Regions from separate parts of the Homo sapiens genome. Here all the other regions are linked to region 2. Evidence: promoter capture Hi-C in human tissues and cell types (Jung and others, 2019). All regions are on one chromosome and are shown on one strand. Each heading gives the region's core, a stretch centred on a gene start or on the middle of the fragment in contact. The rest is flanking DNA. Distances are from core to core; before and after follow the strand shown.

What was found. Contacts are between HindIII fragments. The study calls those that stand out against the background at their distance.
Region 1: a fragment that was not itself captured here is called in contact with the fragment with the promoter of DNAJA2 in region 2 in 1 of the 25 tissues and cell types used here (dorsolateral prefrontal cortex).
Region 3: a contact is called between a fragment that was not itself captured here and the fragment with the promoter of DNAJA2 in region 2, in 1 of the 25 tissues and cell types used here (lymphoblastoid cells).

What each region holds. Positions count from the first base shown.
Region 1 is chr16:48,532,058-48,535,174 of GRCh38, reverse strand. No RefSeq gene overlaps it. Among named protein-coding and RNA genes, the nearest start is that of N4BP1, 77 kb to the left of the region's middle. The HindIII fragment of the contact is 4,833 bases long and covers 1-3,117 here.
Region 2 is chr16:46,972,342-46,975,204 of GRCh38, reverse strand. It overlaps DNAJA2 (DnaJ heat shock protein family (Hsp40) member A2), which reads left to right and starts at 1,531. Exons shown (of 9, transcript NM_005880.4): 1 at 1,531-1,710. The coding sequence starts at 1,633. It overlaps DNAJA2-DT (DNAJA2 divergent transcript), which reads right to left and starts at 1,433. Exons shown (of 2, transcript NR_186372.1): 1 at 1,080-1,433. RefSeq lists enhancers at 1,120-1,209, 1,270-1,339 and silencers at 1,770-1,819, 1,850-1,929, 2,080-2,129, 2,160-2,229, 2,580-2,659. The HindIII fragment of the contact is 16,518 bases long and covers 1-2,863 here.
Region 3 is chr16:48,067,349-48,070,287 of GRCh38, reverse strand. No RefSeq gene overlaps it. Among named protein-coding and RNA genes, the nearest start is that of ABCC12, 87 kb to the left of the region's middle. The HindIII fragment of the contact is 7,875 bases long and covers 1-2,939 here.

The DNA of each region.
Region 1 (3,117 bases), core at 56-2,555, 1.6 Mb before region 2:
AGGGACCTGAGAGCCCAGCAGGGCCAGCCACACCGCTGAGAAGGGAAGGAGGAGGCCACCCAGTGGAGAGCCCTCGTTTCACAGTTGCAGTGTGGACAGAGGCCCAGCTAGCTTGGGTTGCCCATGGCCATCAGCTGTTCGGTAAGGCAGGACTGAGTCCAGGTCTTATTCCCACATTTGTTCTTTCCACTGCCTCCCCTGAAGATGAGTTTCTTTTCCCTGTGAGCCTTTTCTAGTTGTCTGACACTCCCAGCTTTAATAAACCCCCACCTCCCCAGCCCAGGAACTCTGGCTTTGAGGACCACCCAGAGCATCTCACACCCGTAGAGGTGGGGACGGTGGAGCGGGACTGCCAGTCACCTGGTCCCTCCCTCCGAGAACTCTGGCTCTAAGAAGGCACGAGGCATAGCTGGAAGAGGCCCTCGTCCACCATTTGGCCTCTGCGGAGGTGGCGTCCATCCCAGACCTTCGAGCACTCCAGCTTATCAGAATTACTATCCCCAGCCCAAACCACCCCTTTGGGGCTTGGAATCCCGGTATCACAGGGACCACAAGGAAGATGGCCATTCATTCATGCCTTGATGTCTACCATCCTCTGTTTATAGCTTCTGCATTCTAAATGTCTGCTGGGATGGGCCACTGTGGAGGCTGACAGCCTCACAGGGCAGGGAAGTCAGAGCCTGGAAGTATAGATGGGGTGGAAGGGAGCTAACTGGGCTGGGGAGGGGTGCTGCGGATGGGAGAGCGCTCGCACAGGGAAACAGAAAATGGAAAAGAAGATTCCGTGGGGGAGCTTTAGAGGAACTTGTAAGTATCTTGGAGCTGGAGAAGTCAGGGAAGAGGGTCTGGCTATATCCTAAGAGATGTATTCTGCCTCCTCTCCCCAGCGTGGAAGGCCAGCTGGGTGCACACTCTCCTCTGGAAAACCCTACCCAAGCCTGCGTTTCTGCACCTTGGAGACAACTCTGGCTCCAGCCTTCACTGACTCTTGTAACAAGAGGGCAACCAGTTAACCTAGCTCTATTCCTGGGGCGTATTAAGGGGATGGCGGGGTCGAGATGGGGGCCTTCGATGTATGGAGGACTCACTGTTCAGCTGCTTCCAATGTCTGTTCTGGAGGGCTCAGCCTGTCAGTAGCACGAGATGGCCCAAAGGTCCTGGTACCAGATGATGGGGCTCAGTCTTCCCAAGACCACTGAGATGAGCCAGCTCCTCTGCAGAACCCACAGTCTGTCTGCACCTCTGGCCTCCATGTGCACCCTCCTTGAAGGGCCAGGACCCAGGGGAAAGTTAGCCCTGCTGCCCAAGACTGCACAGTTCACAGCCTTCTCTGGCAGCAGGAAAATGCATCTGGTTCCTCTTTGGGGAAAAAAAATCAAGTTGGTTTTTCTTTTTGTTTTTTGTTTTGTTTTGTTTTTTTTAATGGAGCACAGTCATTCCTAATCATGACTTAACGTATGTAACTTCTACTCAAGAGGATCCCTTAACTGCCTGGAGTCTCAGTGACCCCTGCCTGTACACTTGGTCACCCTGGTTTGCAAGCGAATACCATTGTCCATTTACATCCAGCAAGCCCTACATAACCAGGGTTGGGGTAGTTCTTTTTCCTTTAGTCAACTTTTTTATTTTTATTTTTATTTATTTATTTATTTTTTGAGGCGAAGTTCTGCTGTGTCATCCAGGCTGGAGTGCAGTGGCACAATCTCAGCTCACTGCAACCTCTGCCTCCCGGGTTCAAGCAATTCTCCTGCGTCAGCCTCTCAAGTAGCTGGGATTACAGGTGCCTGCCACCACGCCCGGCTAATTTTTGTACTTTTTAGTAGAGACAGGGTTTCACCATGTTGGCCAGTCTGGTCTTGAACTCCTGACCTCAGGTGACCCGCCCACCTGTGAGCCATCGCACCAAGCCACAACCTCAATCAACTTTGTATGAATTTTTAAAAGGCTTCACTCTGGAATACTGTGCAGCCACAGAAAAGAATGAGATCATGTATTTTGTAGAAACATAGATGTAGCTGGAGGCCATTATCCTTAGCAAACTAACATGGGAATAGAATACCAAATACCTCATGTTCTCATTTATAGGTGGGAGTTATTAATAAATGAGAAAACTCATGGACACAAAGAGGGGAACAACAGACACTGGAGTCTATTGGAGGGTGGAGGATGGGAGGAAGGAGAAGATTAGGAAAAATAATGCACGACAAACCCCCATGACACAAGTTCCCTTATATAACAAACCTGTACAGGTACCCCTGAACTTAAAAGTTAAATTTGGAAAAAAAAAAAAAAAAAAGGTTGGCCAGGCATGGTGGCTTATGCCTGTAATCCCAGCACTTTGGGAGGCCAAGGCAGGCGGATCACCTGAGGTCAGGAGTTCAAGACCAGACTGACCAATATGGTGAAACCCCATCTCTACTAAAAATACAAAAAAAATTAGCTGGGCATGGTGGCATGTGCCTGTAATCCCAGTTACTCAGGAGGCTGAGGCAGGAGAATTACCTGAACCTGGGAGGCGGAGGTTGAAGTGAGCCGAGATCGTGCCATTGCACTCCAGCCTGAGCAACAGAGCGAGACTCCATCTCAAAGGAAAATAAACGGCTTCACTCATCTTCCTCCTGTACAGGACAGAACAGGACCCTTTTCATTGTATTTTGTTATTTTTAGTTATTTATGTATCTTTAGAGATGGCATCGAGCTACCTACACTGGTCTCTAACTCTGGCCTCAAGCGATCCTCCTGCTTCAACCTCCTAAAGCACTGGGATTACAGGCATGAGCAACTGGGCCAGCCAAGGACCCTTTTTAAAGAGCAGGGAGAGAAAGAGAGACAGAGACGGGGGTGGGGGGTGAGAGGCGTGGAGTGGAGAGAGAGTGTGGAAAGGCAGGGCCAGGGCTCCTGTGCATTGGAACACCTGATTTCCATGGCCGAGGAGAAATCATTGCCCACAGCCTTTGTCATGTTCAGAATTGCCAAGCCCGAGAGCTGGGGGGACCCTGCCTCCCCTAAGGCTTTGACCTCCTGCCAAGGGGAACCTCCAGAGAGCAAATCTATAGAAAACCAACTGGGCACAGCTTTCCAAGAAAAATAGAGCTTTTTTCTTTTCTTTAAAAATTG
Region 2 (2,863 bases), core at 282-2,781:
CATGGTGGTGGGCGCCTGTAATCCCAGCTACTCGAGAGGCTGAGGTGGGAGAATCACTTGAAGCCGGGAGGTGGAGGTTGCAGCGAGCTGAGATGGCGCCACTGCACTCCAGCCTGAGCGACATAACGAGACGCTGTTTCAAGTAAAAAAAAAAAAAAAAAAAAAAAAACAAAAGAGTTCGAGATCCTACCACAAAAGGTACAAACGAAGGGTGGTGGGAACTCGAATGAGATAGCAGTGTTCACCAGTGCCCAGTAAAGGAAGACTTCACAGAGGGAGCAGGATTTCAGATGGGATTTGAGGAAAAGGGTTTAAGGACTATTAATGACTTATCACTGATTACTCTTAGGGTTTTCAAGCTAAATTTCAGAGTCCTTGTCATGGAATTCAGGCCCTCCACAACTAGGTCAAAGGGAACGCCAAGGAAGAAACATTATCCTGAGTGAGATGCTTATGCTGAAGTCTTTGCTATCAGTTCAGGTTCCAAGGGATCAGAAAACCTTACTTTTCTGTCTCCATAAACCGTAAATGGGTTGAAGGCAGGCACTTTTGTAACACTCCTCTCCCCGGACCAGGCCTCTGTACATCATAGCACTTGGTAGATGCACAGCATACTTTCTGAGCGAAACTAAAACGAATGTAAATCAAGTCACCTGGTGGCCAGACTTGCCTTACACCATCTAAACCTCTGGTGTTAGCTAATTTTAAAGCTATCAAGTAAGAGGCTTAAACACGTGGTCCAGATGCAACATGTGGACCTTGGTTTGGACCCGGATGCCACAAACCAATTGTAAAAGGACATGAGATCATCTGAAAAACCTAAATATGGACTGGGAATTAGATTAAGGAATTGTTAATTTCATTAGATGAGATTACATCGTTATGCCTTTAAAAGTTGTCTCTTAGATATTAAATATATACACTTAGGGTATTTATGAATGAAACGGTTTCCCTTAAAACACTAGAAATGTATGGTGGAGCCAATGAAACAGGTAAAAGGTAGCTAACTGCACTATGGGGAGTAATATACTGCTTCTGCTAAATGTTTCAGAATTCTCATAATATAAAACACAACATACACACACACGCGCCCCCCAGTTTTTTTCATCGTAAGCCCCGAGGGAGCCAGACCCAGAGGGTCCACCGACGTCCCGGATTCTAATAACGACATCTGCGCGCCAGGCGGGCCTCCTGCGGGAGCCGGGGCCCATTTTCTTTCGAAGCTAACGAAGCTGCTGCGCAGGCCTGTTAATTCCCTCAGCAGCCAGTGCGAGGTTAAACACGCGACCTCGCAACCATGGCTTTTGAGAGGAAGCTGAATTCCTGGGGTGCGCCGTGCACAGTTCTTCATTTCCTACGTTGGCCCTGCCCAGCCGCCTGGACCTGGAGGAAAACAGAGAACCTGGCCCACTCTTCAATACTTCGACCCCAGTGGCCGCGCCTCGGGCGCTCGGGGGCGGGCTCTGCACAGCGACGTCACGGCGCACCGTGCGCTGGGTCAAAGTTCAGCCCCGCCCCCGCTTCCCCCTCGCTGTCTCCCTCGGCCTGTGCCGCCGCCGACGCCGCTTGTGGGCCCGACTCCGCTCTGTCTGCTTCGCCACCTTCTCCCCGAGCACTGCCCGGCCGGCCGCCATGGCTAACGTGGCTGACACGAAGCTGTACGACATCCTGGGCGTCCCGCCCGGCGCCAGCGAGAACGAGCTGAAGAAGGTATCTGGGAGCGGGCCGGGCGGGTGTGAGGGGCGCGGGGCCTGCGCGGCCAGGGATGTCTTCTTCAGCCAGGCCGCGCTACTGGGCTGCCCGCGAGCCGGCGCCGGCCGTGACTGGCCCGGGCTGGGAGTCGGCGGCGGCGGCGGGACCGGCCTCGCCGCGAGCCGCGCACTCCGGCCTCGGCTGACCTTGGGGCCGCCGGCCCCGCCCGCCCGCAGATGCAGCAAATAAAACTCACTCCTGCGCAAACACGATGGGAGCCCTTCCTTCCTCCCTCCTTGAACGAGCGCCGGGGGCTGGTATCCCCCGGGAGGCAGCAGCTCGCCCGGTCCTTCGCGTCGAGGTCACCACCCCGGAAAAACAGGTTGGACCGAGGTGCTCAGCGCATCCCGGCCCCGAGAGAGAAGCTGTCCGCCCCGCGGCCGTCGGCCCCGGGTCTGGTGCTCCGCGGGGAGGAACGGCGGGGAGGTCGAGGCCGCCCCCACAGAGCGCCTCGGGCGGATGGGGTTGTTTCCTGGGTTCCGCGGCCGCCGGCTGCGGGAGCTCCTCCCTCTCTGCGTCCCTCGCCCATTGACCCGGAGGTAGCTGGGTCTGTGTTTGGATGCATTGTTCTTTGGGCAGGTAATGCTAATGTCCTGTACCTGCTTAGGAATAAGCCGTGGTCCCAGCCAAACGCCTGAGTGTACAGTAAACATAAATAGAAGGCCTTATTATTGCTATTTGCAATGCTGCGATATCTTTCATCTCAGGATTTCAAAGCACACGAGGCATTTAAGCCCCACAGCATCCTCACCAGGCTAAGAGCATCCAGATTTGTAAGCCGAGAAAAATGAGAATGCTCCTTAGGCAGTGAGAAGAGTACAGTGGACTTCCTGTTACCTTACCGGAAATGCTAGTCTGTATTATATAATTCACGAGCCTCCGTGAATGAAGATTTAAGTGCTTTAGGACCCAAACACCTCGTTGAGAGTGTGTGCAACTTCTCTACCACCGAAGTTGCCACCACGACCCCAGTTAACCACCACGTGCAAATAAAACACCAAAAGACGCTAACTAGGACCACCTTTACTTTTTCATGATGTTACAGTTAGAAGGAAGGCGTGAGCCATCGGGAGCAGGAATTGTGACTTTAGCTTGATTTATAGTAATGTTT
Region 3 (2,939 bases), core at 34-2,533, 1.1 Mb before region 2:
GACATAGCTCAGTCTACCAGGGAAACAGACATACACTGCACTGTCTCATGGCCCTGCAAGGTGGGAGTGAGATGCAGAACAAGCCCAGTTAACAGGCATTGGGGTGGTTCAGGAACTGGAGCCAGGCTGGGCTGGTGCTCACCCTGGAGGCTTAGGATAGGGGAGAGACAGAAGGGAGGAAAAGATTTTTCTTAAGGAGAGCAAGAATCAATACTATGAAAGTCAATTTCCTTATTCAAATTCAAAGAGAAATTTTGTAACCAAAAATGGGAGAACTACTGAAAAGTCAGAAGTAAACAGAAGACTGGAGTAGACAGTGAGGAGCAAAGATAAAAGGAGAGAGAAGATTCAAGACAGTCCCCCCATTTTTATTGGTCTTTAGCTGTGCCTATTGTGAGTGGGTAGATTTGTTTAAAGGCTCAGGGTCTGGCCGGGCGCGGTGGCTCACGCCTGTAATCCCAGCACTTTGGGAGGCCGAGGCAGGTGGATCACGAGGTCAGGAGATCGAGACCATCCTGGCTAACACGGTGAAACCCCGTCTCTACTAAAAATACAAAAAATTAGCCGGGCGAGGTGGCGGGCGCCTGTAGTCCCAGCTACTCGGGAGGCTGAGGCAGGAGAATGGCGTGAACCCCAGGGGGCGGAGCCTGCAGTGAGCCGAGATTGCGCCACTGCACTCCAGCCTGGGCGACAGCGAGACTCCGTCTCAAAAAAAAAAAAAAAAAAGGCTCAGGGTCTGGACGTACATCTCAGTAGTACTTTAAGCCATGACTCACAATACCCAATCCCACGGTGTATTTGAGGTCAAGAAAGTCCAGTCCAGCAATCAAGAGTAATTTCAAAGCAAGCACTTCTGTCCTGGACTAATATTTTTCAAACACCAAGAAGGACACATATAGACCTCAGCCATTCTATTTTTTAAAGACAGGGTCTTGCTCAGTTGTCCGGGCTGGAGTGCAGTGTCGTGATCATAGCTCACTGCAGCCTCAAATTCCTTGGTTCAAGCAATCCTCCCACCTCAGCCTCCCCAGTAGCTGGAACTACATGCACACCACCACACCTGGCTAATATTTTTTATATTTTGTACGGGTGAGGTCTCACTATCTTGCTCAGGCTGGTCTCAAACTTTTGGCCTCAAGCAATCCTCCTGCCTTGGCCTCCCAAAACACTTGGATTACAGACATGAGTCACCATGCCCTGCCAATGTCAGCCATTCTGAACACACTCCCATTTTCTCTTTCATCTATTTCGTTCTCATACCACTGTGGCTCTGAACTTATTTTTTCCCCCAACTACCTTGAAAAACTTCATTTTCCAAGCCATACTCCCCAGGCCTTTTGCACTTTCCTCCCTCCTCCTTTCTCCAGATTCTGAGTATAAGCAGCTGGTCTGCCAAGCAGTGCCCTTCTCAGGGGGTAGAGGGCAGTCCCAGTCAGGTTGTTTATTCATGGGTAGATCAGGAAGGTCTTGGAACATTTATCTCTTAAACACTTTATCCCATCATGTATAGGACAGAATACCAAATGCCTAACATGCAGCCAATGCCCAGAGGAAACCCACACACCTGTGTGTGCAGGTGCAGACAGCATTCCCTGAGTCCTCTAAGAACCCTCACAGAGATGTCCTGAGCCAGTGCTGGGGGGTGTTCCAGAAAGAACATTCCATGTCCTTCTAGAGGCAAGAAAAAGTCTCCTGGTCCATGCAGAAATTTAGAAGACATCTCCCTGTGTCTCTGTGATGTTCCGGACTCCTAATGCAGGGTTGACCCGGTGTTCCATGGTTGGTTTCCCTCCTTGCTGCTTCAACATCCTTAATCAACTTTATTAAATGCCGGTGCTTTGATGATAGGGCACACCTTAGATTTTCCAGCTACCAAATGATCCTATTTTATATCACTGCAGGCACTGAGTCACTTGAATACTTCTCAGTCCTGGAATCAATCCTGTTCGAGCCAAGTTGTTGAGAAAAAGTCCCCAGCCATTTTCCATTCATCTCGAATGTTGAATTTCCTAACATAATTGCCCAATCCTGGGGTGTCTCTGTCTCTCAGTCTTGCAGCTTGAGGAAATTGGTACCATTTCCTTACAGGTAGAAGCAGAGCAGGTGGGTTAATTCTCGCACAGGCAGCTACAGTATGATTTTTTTGTGAAGCATGAATCCACTCCGAATTAGTCTAATCCACACACTGCACTTGAAGTGTGAGAACAAGACCCCAAATCCGTAGCAGCAGATGAACGTATTCAATGCCCACATCAGCCACTTCCTCTCAGACTGTCTCTGAGAGGACTCCGCCCCTGGGGAGTCTCAACTCCAGGTGTTTCTGGGTGGCTGGATATTCCCACTCAATGTCTTTCTTGCTTCACACCCTGATCATCCATGCTATCATGCTGTCCTTGACTTCTCCCCTCAGGAACTCCATGACAGGTCTGCATCCTGCCCAGGGCCAGAACGGAGCTTCCCTAAGCGTGTCCTCCAGAACCCTAGTCCCTCCAGGTGAACTGTGAGAAAAGAGTTTCTCAGTCAAATAAGTTTTGGAAAGGGCTTGGACTATAGCCCTTGCTTGGAAATTTACAAGTTGACTGTGTCTTAGTTTGGGTTCCCCATGAGCATTTACTGAGACAAAGATTCCTGTTTCCTGGAAGGCGTGGGAATGAGATCAGGAAGGAAAGCAGGGGATAAAGGATGTTTTGTGGAGCCAGTTCCCATGGTGAATAGAAGCTTCATGCTGCAGGGGAACTTTGGCAGCCCTCAGAACAAGGGCCTCAGTGTCATCCCACCCAAAGGGTGGTGTGGGAGAGCCGGGGTATTTACACAGTGTTATCAGTCTGTTTTCATGATGCTGATAAAGACATACCTGAGACTGGGTAATTTATAAAGAAAAAGAGGTTTAATGGACTTACAGTTCCATCTGGCTGGGGAGGCCTCACAATCTTGGCATA